Regions from separate parts of the Homo sapiens genome. Here region 2 is linked to region 1. Evidence: promoter capture Hi-C in human tissues and cell types (Jung and others, 2019). All regions are on one chromosome and are shown on one strand. The core of a region is centred on a gene start or on the middle of the fragment in contact, and the rest is flanking DNA. Distances in the headings are between cores, read along the strand shown. Region 1 holds the start of TST (thiosulfate sulfurtransferase). Region 2 holds the start of BAIAP2L2 (BAR/IMD domain containing adaptor protein 2 like 2).

Region 1 (6,264 bases), core at 3,079-5,578:
CCGACCTGGGGTCAAGTCTCTGCCACTTTGTCTTAACAGAGAAGCCCCTTCCTTGTCCCCACCCACAAAGTGGGACCCAGCCTACCTACCCCTGCCTGCCTCCCCTTGCAGGGCTGCTGTAGGTGTCCAGAAGAGACTATATAAAAAGCGTTCTGTAAATAAAAGTGCTCATTAGCGGGTCGATACCCTCCTCCCTTCTTCACCCTCACTCCCTCCAAGAAGGGAGGCAAAGAAAATTAAGTCGATAAAGAAACTGGGCTGGATAAACTCCTACTCTGCCTCTCTCACTTCCTCCAGCCCTCCTCTCAGGTGAGCAGCGCTCCTTTCACGAACAACAGTTAGCGGTGAAGGCACTAGCCTGAGGCTAAGCATCAGTATCACACCTGGATGGAACCTCAGATCTGGCTGACTCCAGGACTAAGAGCTTGTGGAGGCACAAAACTACAGCCAAAGAGGAAGGCGCTTGCCTAAGGTGAGCAGGAAGTGGCCGCCAGGTGTCTAAGCTCTGCTTCTCGCTCCATTTAGGGTCATTCCTTCCAGAGATGATCAGGGCCAATGCCTGACCCCCAGGTCTGCCACCCCCATGCCCCTGTGTGTTACATCTGGACCGCTGAACCTACAGGGTGCCTCCCTGATCCCACACCACGCTGGGAACCATAAACTTGGCAGAGCCTCATGTGCCTTTGTGTCCCCAAAATATCTTGTATGGGAGGCCAGCAAAGCCTCTTGGAGGAGGGGGTTGGGGGGGAAGTGCCACACCCTCCAGGATTTGTATCGTTCCTTACCCTTCTTGAAATCCCTTTCCAGCCACTGCTACTTTTTTTTTTTTTTTTTTTTTTTTTTGAGACAGAGTCTTGTTCTGTTGCCCAGGCTGGAGTGCAGTGGCGCGATCTTGGCTCACTGCAACCTCCACCTCCCGGGTTCAAGCGATTCTCCTGCCTCAGCCTCCCAAGTAGCTAGGATTACAGGCACGTACCACCAACGCCTGGCTAATTTTTTTTTCATTTTAGTAGCGACGGGGTTTCACCATGTTGGTCAGGCTGGTCTCGAACTCCCGAGCTCATGATCCGCCCACCTTGGTCTCCCAAGGTGCTGGGATTACAGGCGTGAGCCACCACGCCCGGCCGCCACTGCTACATTTAAACAAATGCATACTCATGTGGGTAGGGCTGGCGTGACTCTTCTCATTTTATGATAAGGAAACCCAGAGAGGCCAAGCAACTGGACTGAGGTCACTCCAAGGAGGAGTGGCTGAGCTGAAATGAGAATCCATGTTCCCTGATGCTCCTGAGGGAAACTGAAGGAGGTGTGAACACAATTACAGAGGAGGAACTTCAGCATCCCGGGCCTTCAGGAGGCATTACCCACTGCAGGCCATTCTCCTCCTCTGAGCCTCAGTTTCCTCATCTGTAAAATGGGTGAGGACATTGGGCCTGGCACCTCCAAGCTGTCCCTTCCACTTATTTCTTAGGTTGCTTCAGGGCAGGCTGGGAAGCAGCAAGAGAACCAATTCCACTGATCCTCCCCCATGACAGCTTAAATCCCAAGGAGAAGAGGCGTCTTGAACCAAGGCCAGGAGAGGGCTGCAGGCGTTCCCAGCCAGGATTCTCTGGGAGGTGCCAAATGAACTTGAATCTTCAACTCCAGACCTTCAGAGAGCAAGCAGGCAAGAAAAATATGGGGCCTGGAAAAAGCTGCGCTGGAAAGGGCAGAGACCCTGCTGTCCTGGCTCTGTCACTAACTAGCTATGCGGCCTTGGCCCCTGCCTCTGTGCACCTCAGTCTCCCCTCTGTCAGGTGAGGTCACCGTTCAGGCCCTCCAGCTCTAAGAGTGTGCAGAACAGTTTTCCCAGCATTCTCTCTGTAGGAGGTACAGACAGGAAGAGATGTTTTTCAACAAGTCAGGCAAAATGTTGCACACGAGTTAGATTCTGTAGAGAAGGAGCTCTGACTGAGGAAAGAGCCACCAAGGAGGTGCCCAGAGACAAGAGAGGGCCCTGCTCCTGGAAATGGCCAGGCAGGGACTGGAGGGCACTCAGCAGGAGTGATGGCAGCGAGACGGCAGTCCTGCCTCTAGAAAAGGGAAGACCTCCGAGGTTCTGTCTGGCTAGGAGGTTCTAGAACTCAGCATTTCCTCTCCTGAGGCTCTCCCCAACCCTCAAGCAGTATCCAATCCACCTGGCCTTCCCTTCCACAGGAGGGGAACTTCTGAGTCGCCTTCCTGGGGCAACTAGCAGAGGGGACTCCCTCCTGGCCCTGGGAAGTAGGGGTAGGGCAGCATTGGGTGCGTCCTGGTTTATAGCCCTGGTTTGAAACAAGGCAGCATTGGATTCGAATCCTGCCTTCCACCACTTTATGTCCTGGCATCTCAGTCCCCCCACCCCCCGCTGCCAAAACAGGGGCATTGAGCTTTGTTCGCTGAGATAATGCGGTGCCAAGTGTCTGGCATGAAATGGCAGCTGCTGTTACAACTCTGCCGACGGGCTGCAGCTGCCTGGAAAGGTTATGGAACCTTTGCAAACAGCAGGCAGGGGCCCCAGGAGAGCTAGATTTGGGGAGAGGGGGATCCTGCGGGGAGGGACACTGTTGATGTCTATAAGGGTTTCTGCGGGACGAGAGAGGCCTGGAGAAGCTGGATGTGTCCGTGGGAGGTTTCTGTACAGCAATGCAAACGCTGGCTCAGGGGCATGACACCCTTAGGTATATCCTAGTACATGTGGGGCAGCTGGTGCCTGGGAGTGGAGGTGGTGGACATGTCACCAGTGACTTCTGCTCACACAGATGCTAGGTGGCTTCTTAGCACATGGCTATGAGGACACATTCTTGGGTCCTTGTGCATCCAAGCTGAAAAAGCCTTTAGGTTTGTCTCCACTTTCTGGTTTTATCGATGGAAAGACTGAGGCCTACATGGGAGGATTGAAGGCATGGGACGGACCCTGGAGAGGGTCCCAGTCATCCTTACTCCCTATCCTTCCATGGGGCAATACTCCCCAGGGACCACCCAGCACTGGGACACCTACCTACTGCATCCGGCTCCGGCTCGGTGCCCAGGAACCGCCCTTGAGACCTTGAATCCACCAGCTGGAACCTCTTAGATTCAAGGTTCTCCAGCACCTGCTCGTAGGTCTTGAGCAGGGAGCGGTCCAGTGTGGCTTTGAAGACGGCCGGTTCTGGGCGTGAGGGCTCGGATGTCACCGGGTGGCCCTCCTTCAGCCAGTTCCGGAAGCCACCATTGAGCACTGATACGGTGCGGTGGCCAAACACACGGAACATCCACCAGACCCGGGGAGCATAGAAGCTGCCCAGGTGTTCACCATCATACACCACCACGTGCGTGTGGTTGCTGATGCCCAGGCGGCCCACATACTCGGCGAAGCCAGCCTCGCTGGGCAGCATCATCTCGTAGGGCGACGCCGTGTCCCGGCACTCTTCTATGTCAAAGAAAGAGGCGCCGGGTACGTGGCGCTCGAGGTACTCCTTGCGGGCCTCTCGGGTGCCTGGTGAGTACCAGGACGCGTCCAGCACCCGCAGGCCGGGCCCCAGCTTGCCAGTCCTGATGGACTCCGCCAGCCACTTGGTGGAGACCAGCGCCCGGTAGAGCACCTGATGAACCATGGCTTCAGCTCTGCGTGTCACCTGGCACGGGTGGGAACCAGGAAAGAGAGACAGGCGTGAGGAAGGAAGTCGGTGTGTGCAGTAGGGTGAGGCCTGGGAGAAGCTCTTTCTCCCTCCGCACTCCCCCGGGTTCCTTGTTTACAGCAAGCCAGCGAGGCTGGGGCGTGCAGCGGGATAAGTTTGCAGATTCCCTCTGGAAAGCCGGCCCCGCCCCTCCCAGCCGGCCCGGGGGCCCAGCGCAGAAGCGGGTGGGGCAAGAGTTTCCGAGGACTCCAAGTAGGGGCGCTTCCTGGGGCGGGGATCTGGCTCCTAGAAGTTACAGTACTCGATCCCGCCAGGAAAGAGCAATGAAAGCATGCCCGGGATGGGGGGCGATGGCATCTTGGGCTTAGAATCCCCTTTCCTTCCAAGGCAGAGGGGGTGGGCGCACGGCTAGGAAGCTCCGCGAGCCGCGCACACGCCATCGCCTGCGGCCTCCCCAGGCAGCCCGAGCTCGCCCGCCTCCAGAGTGCCCGAGTCCGGCCCGTAGCTCGCTGCCCTCTGCCCTAGGTGGATCAGGGGTTCCCGGGGCACCCCGTCCCACTCTCGCAACGCTATCCTTCCCCGGGCAGCAGGTGGCCCGACCGGCGGCCCAGGCGCCCGGCCGCTGCCCCCGCCCCGCACTCACTCGCCCCGGACGCCGCGCTGGCGCTCGCCCCGGCCGGCTGGAGAAGTTGGCCGGTTCAAACCCCCGGCCGCAGCTCCCCAGGCGGCGCGCACCATCGCGCCACCGCCAGAGGGGGACCCTGCGCCGCCCGCCGCCATCCCGCGCCTCCCCCGCGCGGCCGCTTCGCGCCCGGCACCTGCCAACCTCGCGCGCGGGGCCTCCGGGACCCGCGGGGGTCTGAGGGGGACGCCGGGTGGCGCGGGGGCCGCGCGGGCCTGGGCTGGGCGGAGCGGGCGTACCCCCACGGCCCGGCCAGTGGAAGGCGCGGGCAGCAGCGGCTCCGAGTGGCCGCGGCGGTGGGCTGTGCCGGAGTCTCCTCCCTTTGGTCCGCTGCAGGTTGGTGGCGGGAGGAGGGGACAGCTGCGGGCGCGGGGAGGGGGCGCCGCGCCGCGGGGGCCATGGCGGAGCCAGGAAGCCGGGAGTCCGAGACCCGGGTAACTGCCGCGGCGTGGCGGCTTGCCTTTCTGGAGGGGGAGGGAGTGGCTCTTTGGGGGTGCTCGGCGCGGGGCTCCCGCGCGGGACCTGGGCGGAAGAGGGGGCTTAGTCTAGGAGAGAAGGCGCGCCGCTACGTTGGCACTAAGGGTGACTGTCCGCTTGGGGCGGCCTGCCGGGTGGGGTCGTGGCGAGTGGCGGGTGGGGAGCCTTGGGTGGAAGTGGGTGACCTGGTGGCACCAGAGAGGGCGGGGGAGAGAGAGGAGGACAGGGAGACGAGACCCCGCTGACCCAGAGGCCCCAGGAAGAGACACTAGCCAATAACTTGTTAGTGAGTGAAAGGAACTAACATTGTCCAGCCCTGCTTGGTGTGGCACTTTGCTGGGTACTCCCGTGGTGTGACTTAATTCCCACAATAACCCTGAGGAGTAGGCCAGAAACTTACTAAGACAGGAGAGAGCGGCAGAGCGAGTTGCTGGAGGACACACCCAGAGTTGAGGCCGGGCCTGATCCCTGGTCTGAAGCCCACGTGGTACCAGCTGCCTTTGTTTACCTGGCTCTTCCCTGAAGGTTCATGCTTTTTAAAAAATTGCCTGTTTTGAACTTAGCCCGTTTAATCATAAGTTGATGTAATTCAATTTTTAATAATAGCTGTATTTAACAACCAGTTGGCAAAATTCCTGAAAAGCTCGCCATGGGCTCTTGCAAACTGGGGGACACCATTGCCCCTCCCTAGCTTTTGCAGAGGCCAGCCTGGAAGCTTTCCCTGTTTCCCAACCCTGACCTTTTGTTTTGTTTTGTTTTTTGAGACAGGCTGTGGTTCTGTGGCCCAGACTGGAGTGCAGTGGCGCCATCTCAGCTCACTGCAACCTCCGCCTCCCAGGCTCAAGCGATCCTCCCACCTTAGCCTCCCAAGTAGGTGGGACCACAGGCATGTGCCACCATTCCCGGCTAATTTTTAAATTTTTGGTAGAGATGGGGTTTCACCATGTTGTCCAGGCTGGTCTTGAACTCCTGGGCTCAAGTGATCTGCCCATCTCAGCCTCCCAAAGTGCTGAGATTACAGGCATGAGCCACCATCCCTGGCCTCATCCCTCTTTTTAAAAAAAGGTTTTGTTCTAAAATGCTCACAGCAATCCTCAAAGCCTAGTGTCTGGTGGTTGGGGGAGGGGGTGGGCAGGAGGGACCAGGCTGGGGAGGTCCAAGAGGAGCTCCCAAGCTCTGCTCCTCAAGGGGTACCCTGGATCCAGCCTGCGGCTCACGCTTGCTTCAGTGCAGCTGTGTATCCTTCTGACATGAGCCTGGGGCGGTTACGTCCTGGGGTCCTCCACTCCCAGGGCACCCTCACCTACAGTGATCCCGGCTTCTGAATCACACAGGCACCTGGTTTCTACCCCTCCCTGACACCCACAGCCTGCCTTCACACCCTCCTTTATGGCCCACAGACCTTTGTGAGAAGTGCCAATCAAGCAGGGAGACTGGGGCAGGGTGACCTCAGATCTCTGAAGTCCC
Region 2 (6,399 bases), core at 3,485-5,984, 1.1 Mb after region 1:
TATCACAGCTGAGATGCCACTGCCTGGAGAGGACAGCTCTCCTTACAGAGTGGGCCTGGGTGACACTCATCCCTGCCCAGCCCAGGTGTGCCACAAGTGACAAGGACAGCCATTGAACACAAGGACAGGAACCCACAGGCTCCATAACTCCGTGCCCACATCCAAGGGGGTGGCAGGGGCTTAATGCTACATCCTAAAGTGCCCAAGGAGTCCACGGAGCCCAGGGGCCTTGGGGCCTTGTTGTGTGTGCGTGGGATGTGCATTTACTAATAGAAAGATTGTTCCCCCGCCAGGCGCGGTGGCTCACGGCTGTAATCCCAGCACTTTGGGAGGCCGAGGCGGGCAGATCACTTGAGGTCAGGAGTTCAAGACCAGCCTGGCCAACATGGTGAAACCCCGTCTCTGCAAAAAAATAAAAAAATTAGCCAGGCATGATGACAGGTGCCTGTAATCCCAGCCGCTCGGGAGGCTGAGGCAGGGGAATGGCATGAACCCAGGAGGCGGAGGTTGCAGTGAGCTGAGATTGTGACACTGCACTCCAGCCTGGACGACAGAGCAAGACTCCGTCTCAAAAAAATTAAAAAAAAAAAAAAAAAAAAGATTGTTCCCCATGCCCAACTGACTAGTATTTTATGGTATCCCCCAAAGAGCACCCTGACTTCCAGGGGCTCCCCTTCACACATTGGAGGGAGAACAATTAGTTAAAATTTCCTTCCGAACCTTCCCACTTGCCTCACCACCAGGCCCCACCCCACCTCTCCCACTCAGCCCCTGCGCCCAAGCCCTGGCTCATGCCTGCCTGCTGCCCGCTCATGGCTGTGCGCAGCCCGCTGCCATGCTCCCTTGGAAAGCCCTCTCTTCTCTCCATCTAGCCAAGCTGACTCCCTCAGCTCTTTTCTTTCCCCTGTGTCACTGAAGCCCTGCTTGGCGGAAGGCCCTGGAGCTACGGAGAGGAAGGAAGGCTCTGCGGCGCTCCCAGTCTTGGGAGGGATAGGGGCAGGTGAGTTAACTTCTGGTTATCATAGCTAAGGTATCCAGGGGCAGTAAGTAGGGGCCAGGGCAAACGGTTTATGCTTATTAATTCACGTCATCCTCTCAAGAACCCTGGGAGGCAGTTATTATGATTCTCTCCATTCCTCAGATAGGTAAGTGGAGGCATAGAGTCCAAGGTCACAAAACTAGTCACTGGTGAAGCTGGGCTTTGAACCCACCACGAGCTAAGAACGGACAGAATCATCTGTTGGAGTCCAGGGGGAGGGGTGACTGGACTTGCCCCAGGGAGTCAGAGGAGGCTTTGGGAAGGAGGGGACAGCTGCTTCCCAACTGGACGGCAGGGGGAGGGACCGGTGGCTCTAGGCTGAGAGGACAGCAGGACAGCAGCCCCGCAGCGGGGACACCAGCAGAGGGCCCACTCTTCCGGGGGGCTGGGCTGTGTTGGGGGTGTCAGGAGAAGCTGCTGGATCGACAGAGCCAGGGACCCCTCACTGAGAAGCCTGTGTTCAGTTCTACGGGCAGTGGGGCCGTGGAACGGTTCTGCTCCTGGGAGTGACATGGTCAGGTCCATGTGGCTGCTCCCTGGGAGGCTGCAGTGAGGAGGGCTGCAGTGAAAGGACCTTTCTCTTCCTTGGGCCTCCATTCACTCTGGCATCTCAGGCAATGACTAGCTCTTTGAGACTCAGTTTCTTCCTCTATAAAATGGAGGCAGAAATGCCACCAGCCTCCTAGGGCTGCTAGAGGCTTGAACGACTATTGCAGGGAACCGTGCCCCACAGAGCCGGGTGCTGGGAAGGGCAGCCACGGTCATCCTCCCTGGGAAGGGCATCTGGTAGGCTGGGCCCTCTCCTTGGAACATAGCCCACTTTCCTCGAGTGACCCCTCCAGGCCCTGGGGCCTGATACTCACCACCACCTCCAGGTCAGAGTTCAAGTGCCGCTGGGTGTCAGACATCTGCACCAAGATCTCCCCTGGAGGCATGGATGCAGCTGTGGCTTTGGTGTGTGGCAGCCTGCCCCGCCCACCCACCACCCTCTTCCGCTGAAAGCCAACAGAGGGCCTGCCCGAGACTGGATTTTGGGACCAAAGTCCGGGAACTTCCCATATGGTTCTCTGGGAGCCAGGCCATGTGTGTCCCAGCCTGGGAGCAGCCCGGCAGGGAGTGGTGGCGGGGAGCCTGGGCCCCAGAACAAGAGTCTGGCTCTGGGCCCTGGGCTGAAAGGCCTGTGTCAGGGACTCGGGACATCCTGGAAGGGCAAGGGTGCAAAAGGAGGGCCCAAGAATGGGGTCTGCTGTGGAGGGGGAGCCTCACCCAGAATCTGTGAGGTGGGGCTCTGCAGGGCACGCTCCCCAATCTTCTGGATGGCACTGAAGTAGACCTCGGCCGCCTCGGACAGAGCTGTGGACCAGAAGGGACAGGTCTGGTCCAGCCCTGCCTCTGCCCCACCCTTCTGGAGGCTCTTTTCATCTGGAGGGGACTGTGTCTGTCCTGGGTGGGGTGTGGGCATCTGTGTGTGCCCCTGAGGAGGGTGTGACCAGTTGAGCTGTGAAACTCAGGTGCAGGGGCATAAGGTGAGGGCTGGGGGCAGGGAGGTGGCGTGGAAAGCATCTAAGAAGCAGGGGGATGGGAGGCCCTGAGGTTCAGGGTTGATCAGCACTGGTGGGTAGTGGGGTGCTATTGGCAGGTATGAGCGGCCACAGCGGACGGGTACAAGGGTTTGCACGGGGACCGAGTGAATGTCAAGGCCAGCTGCAGGGTGTGTGGGTGGTGGCCAGTTGAAGTGAGGAAGCCAGCTGCTGTGTGAGCCTGGGTGCAGAGGTGGGACTGAGTATAGGGGTGGGTTCAGCTGGTGGCATCCAGGTGACGCCTAGAAATGTATGCACTGTCAGGGGCTGCCCTGGGGCTGTGTGGGCCTGCAGGGCCTGGTACTGCATCATGGGAGTGTCTGGAGGCACCTGAAGGAGGGGGCAATGAGGGGTGCTGGGTGTGGACTGGGGTGCGTGGGCACAGGAGAGTGGGGGTGCATAAGGCCTCTCTGGCTGCAGAGGTGTGAGGGTGAGGGTGGTGGGTAGGAGGGTGTAGGGTTGAGGATGAACAGGTGTGGGATGCAGAGAATCTGGGAGGGGCCTGGGTGGGTGGGAACAGCAGAGGCCCAGGGCTGGGGCTCGGTGGCCCGGGCAGGCACTCACCGTGGAAGGCACGCAGGTAGTTGTTGCCCAGGTACACCAGGTTCTCCAGGGCGGGGTTAAACTGCTCCATGATGCTCTGGACCCCAGGGTCAGGGGAGGAAAAAGGTGTAGAGATGGGGGAGCGAGAAGGAACCACGGATGGAGTCAAGTCACCAGGCGTCAGGGACAGGGCACCCCCAGCCCAGTGAGAAGCCCCAGACTTTGGGGGGCCCATCTACAAACCTAGGCTCACCCAGAATCCTGGCTCTTGGCTGCAGGGACCTCAGAGCCCATCTTTTGGGGTCCTGTTCTAAGCTGTGGTCCCCTCACAGCCAGCTCCCGCTTACGTCTGCTCTGGCGGGACCGAGGTGCCTCCCGAGATGGTGCACCTGGAAGGTTCTCCTCCTCCCGCTGGGCAGAAGCTGGCCCGCCTGCTGTGGTCCCCACTGGGCACGGCTCAGCCCTGCCCTGTGTCCAGGCCTTGCCGGGCTACACGCCTGGGGCTGCCAACAGTCACCCCCGGGGCAAGGGCAGCTCTCGCCCTCCTCCGAGAACAGCCCCCCATGGGCAAGGCTGTGGCTGGATTAGTGTGGGCCTCCTCGGGCTGGGGCCGGGCAGAGAGCTCCCCGGATGGTGAAGACGGGCCTGGACTTGGGCCTGGACTTGGACTTGGGTCTCGGTTCAAATCCCAGCAGCACCTCTTCCTCCCTCCGTGACCTTGAATGAGCTGTTTAACCTCTTTGGTCTCAGTTTTCTCATCTATCAAGCAGGGTGGTCATTTTCCACCTCACAGGTGGGTGGTGTGAGGCCTCCAGGTGAAAGGGTCCTGCACACAGGAGGCGCTCAATAAATGTCTGTGGCGGCTGCAACAACCCCCCGGGGGTGAAGTAGGAAGTCTGAGGGGCTCAGAAATGAGAGAGACAGAGACAGGGAGAGACAGAGAGAGAGAGAGAGACAGAGAGAGAGAGAGACAGAGAGAGAGAGAGACAGAGAGAGGGAGAGAGAGAGGGAGAGAGAGAGAGAGAGAGAGAGAGAGAGGGAGAGACAGAGAGAGAGAGGGAGGGTCTTTCTTTATTCCCAGGCCGGGCAGCCAGGCCCTTCTCATCCAGACTCAACTCTCCCCACCCTGGGCCTTGGGCTCCCTCCTGCCTTGTCCAGCATCTGGGAGTTGGGGGTTCCCGCTGTATGGCTGAGTGCTCTCGGGGATCCTTACCCCCGTACCCACCCCTGGCCCAGCCTGGCTCCAGGCTTCCCTTTCCAGGACATCTGTAGCCCCGGCTGGCCCTCCGTCCTCCAGAGCGGGCCTGATTTCTGTGCCCTGGGAGGAGGGGCTCAGGCCTGGCTTGGCCACCCATGTGCTCACCTTGTAGATGGCCATGGTGGACCTGTAGAACTGGTCCATCTCGGGGGCCATGGAGGGGCTGTCCCGGGTCTGAGCAGGAGGCTGGGAGCTGGTGGCGATGGCACAGCCGGGAGCAGTGGTAGGTAGTCCCTCAGGTGCCCACGACTCAGCTGGCAGCGAGGAAGCCTCGGAGAGGGACCTGGAGATGGAGGCCTGCCTCAGAGGAGTGGCAGCTTAATTATTCACCAACTCGGGATGTCAGAATGTGATCTGGGGCGTAACCAGATCCGGCAGGGAAGGCATCCTGTGCCGGGCAGGCTCGTGTGACCTGCCCTTCAATTATTCACCCCTTGGAGCTGTGGGCTGATACAAGTGCCCATGTGGATGAGCCCCCTCCTGGGTCACCCCCTCCTCAAGGACCCCAACCCTGGGGGGCCCCGCCCTCCCACCTGCCTATACCAGGCATTGCCCACCTTACTGGGCGGGCGCTGCCCGATGCCCTCCCCCAGGACTCTCTCTGCCAGACCCAGCAGCAGCAGCCCCTGGAGGGGAACGCCGCTTTACTTCTCACTGTCCTCAGGCCTGCGGCTCACAGTGGGGCCACGCCCTCTGAGCTTGGCTCCCACAGCCGCTCTGGCCCGCCCAGCTCCTCCACTTGCCGGAGCAGGAGCAGCACAAACGCTGGAGTTGCCCAGCCCTGGGCAGACCTCGGCCCTGCACACGCGCTGCCTGTCCACGCGGAGTCCCCGGCCTCTCTGGGTGACAAATGGGGCTCTCCCTGGTCCTCCAAGATGAAGTTGAAGATTGTGGCCCTCCTTGGGCCTGCCGGGGGTATGTGGGCCTGGCAGCTGCCTCTGCATACCCTAAGGGCCGGTTTAGGGGAGGCCTAGAGGAAAGAGGAGGTGTCCCTGCCCAGGGATCCTGGAAAACAGAGTGTCCGGGTACAAAGGAAAAGTCCGGTCAAGGCCAAGGGTCAAGGCCGAGGGGAGCCGGGGGTCAGGGGAACAGGTGGATCTCACACCACTGCACACACAACACAGGTGAACTTGAATCCAAATGATTTATTTCAGTTTTGGCTCTTAAGCCACTTCCATTGGGAAGAAGAAACTCCCAGGAGTGACCTTTGAGAGCTGAGGGTTCTCGGGGTGGGGCAGTGTGAGGGGCTGGGCCAGTGTGAGGGGCAAAGTCCAACGGGCATCCCACTCCTGCGGCCTGGGCTTTCCCAGCTGATGGGGTGGGGGACACCCATTTCTTTAGTCCCAGCCCCCAGGGAACGGAGCAGAGGGCAGAGGGAGTGGGCTGCACCCACCAGGAAGCCTGGGAGTGCCCTTGCTGGGGGCTGGGGCAGAGGCAGCCCGGCAGGCCCTCAGGGAGGCTGGGGCTGGGGGCAGGGGTACGGTTGTGCCCGGGTACCCTTAATGTTTGAGCTGATGGGGGAGTCAGTTGTCCTTGACAGTCAGGGAAAGGGGCCAAAGGGGGCTCTAGACTTTCCCAGCCTGGAATGACAGAAAGTGCTGGAAGGCGGGGTTAGTGGGAGACAGGCCTTCAGGACCAGCCTCGGGCAGGCAGCTTGGCATTCTCCCAGGCCTGGTCTATGGACTCAGAGGTGCCTGGGCCCAGATCTGCCCGGGAGGGCAGTGGCTGGGCTTGGCCTGGCAGGGGCTGAATGGACGAGGTCAGCTGGGGCCGGTGAGAGGCTGGGGACCCTCAGGGTGAGAGCAGCAGCTGGATGAGCTTCTGGAACTCCTCGCGGTGCTCATAGATGTAGACCTCGGTCTCCCAGAGGGCGTTGACCAGCACTGTGTCACTGACCTCATCCAGCATGATGTCCGTCCCCAGCTGGGGGTTCAATCTGTTCGGGCCAGGGAGGAGGGGGTCACCCTAGGATGCTCAGG

The links. Contacts are between HindIII fragments. The study calls those that stand out against the background at their distance.
Region 2: the fragment with the promoter of BAIAP2L2 here is called in contact with the fragment with the promoter of TST in region 1 in 1 of the 25 tissues and cell types used here (heart right ventricle).

Annotation. Positions count from the first base shown.
Region 1 is chr22:37,015,119-37,021,382 of GRCh38, forward strand. TST (thiosulfate sulfurtransferase) reads right to left here and starts at 4,329. Exons shown (of 3, transcript NM_003312.6): 1 at 4,282-4,329; 2 at 3,020-3,635. The coding sequence starts at 3,614. It overlaps MPST (mercaptopyruvate sulfurtransferase), which reads left to right and starts at 4,624. Exons shown (of 3, transcript NM_021126.8): 1 at 4,624-4,754. The coding sequence starts at 4,719. RefSeq lists enhancers at 2,872-3,847, 3,876-4,377 and silencers at 3,851-3,910, 4,071-4,460, 4,491-4,610, 4,621-4,940. The HindIII fragment of the contact is 8,246 bases long and covers 1-6,264 here.
Region 2 is chr22:38,105,950-38,112,348 of GRCh38, forward strand. BAIAP2L2 (BAR/IMD domain containing adaptor protein 2 like 2) reads right to left here and starts at 4,735. Exons shown (of 14, transcript NM_025045.6): 1 at 4,526-4,735; 2 at 3,184-3,259; 3 at 2,306-2,392; 4 at 1,903-1,964. The coding sequence starts at 4,576. PLA2G6 (phospholipase A2 group VI) reads right to left here. Exons shown (of 17, transcript NM_003560.4): 17 at 5,546-6,356. The coding sequence ends at 6,212. The HindIII fragment of the contact is 15,386 bases long and covers 1-6,399 here.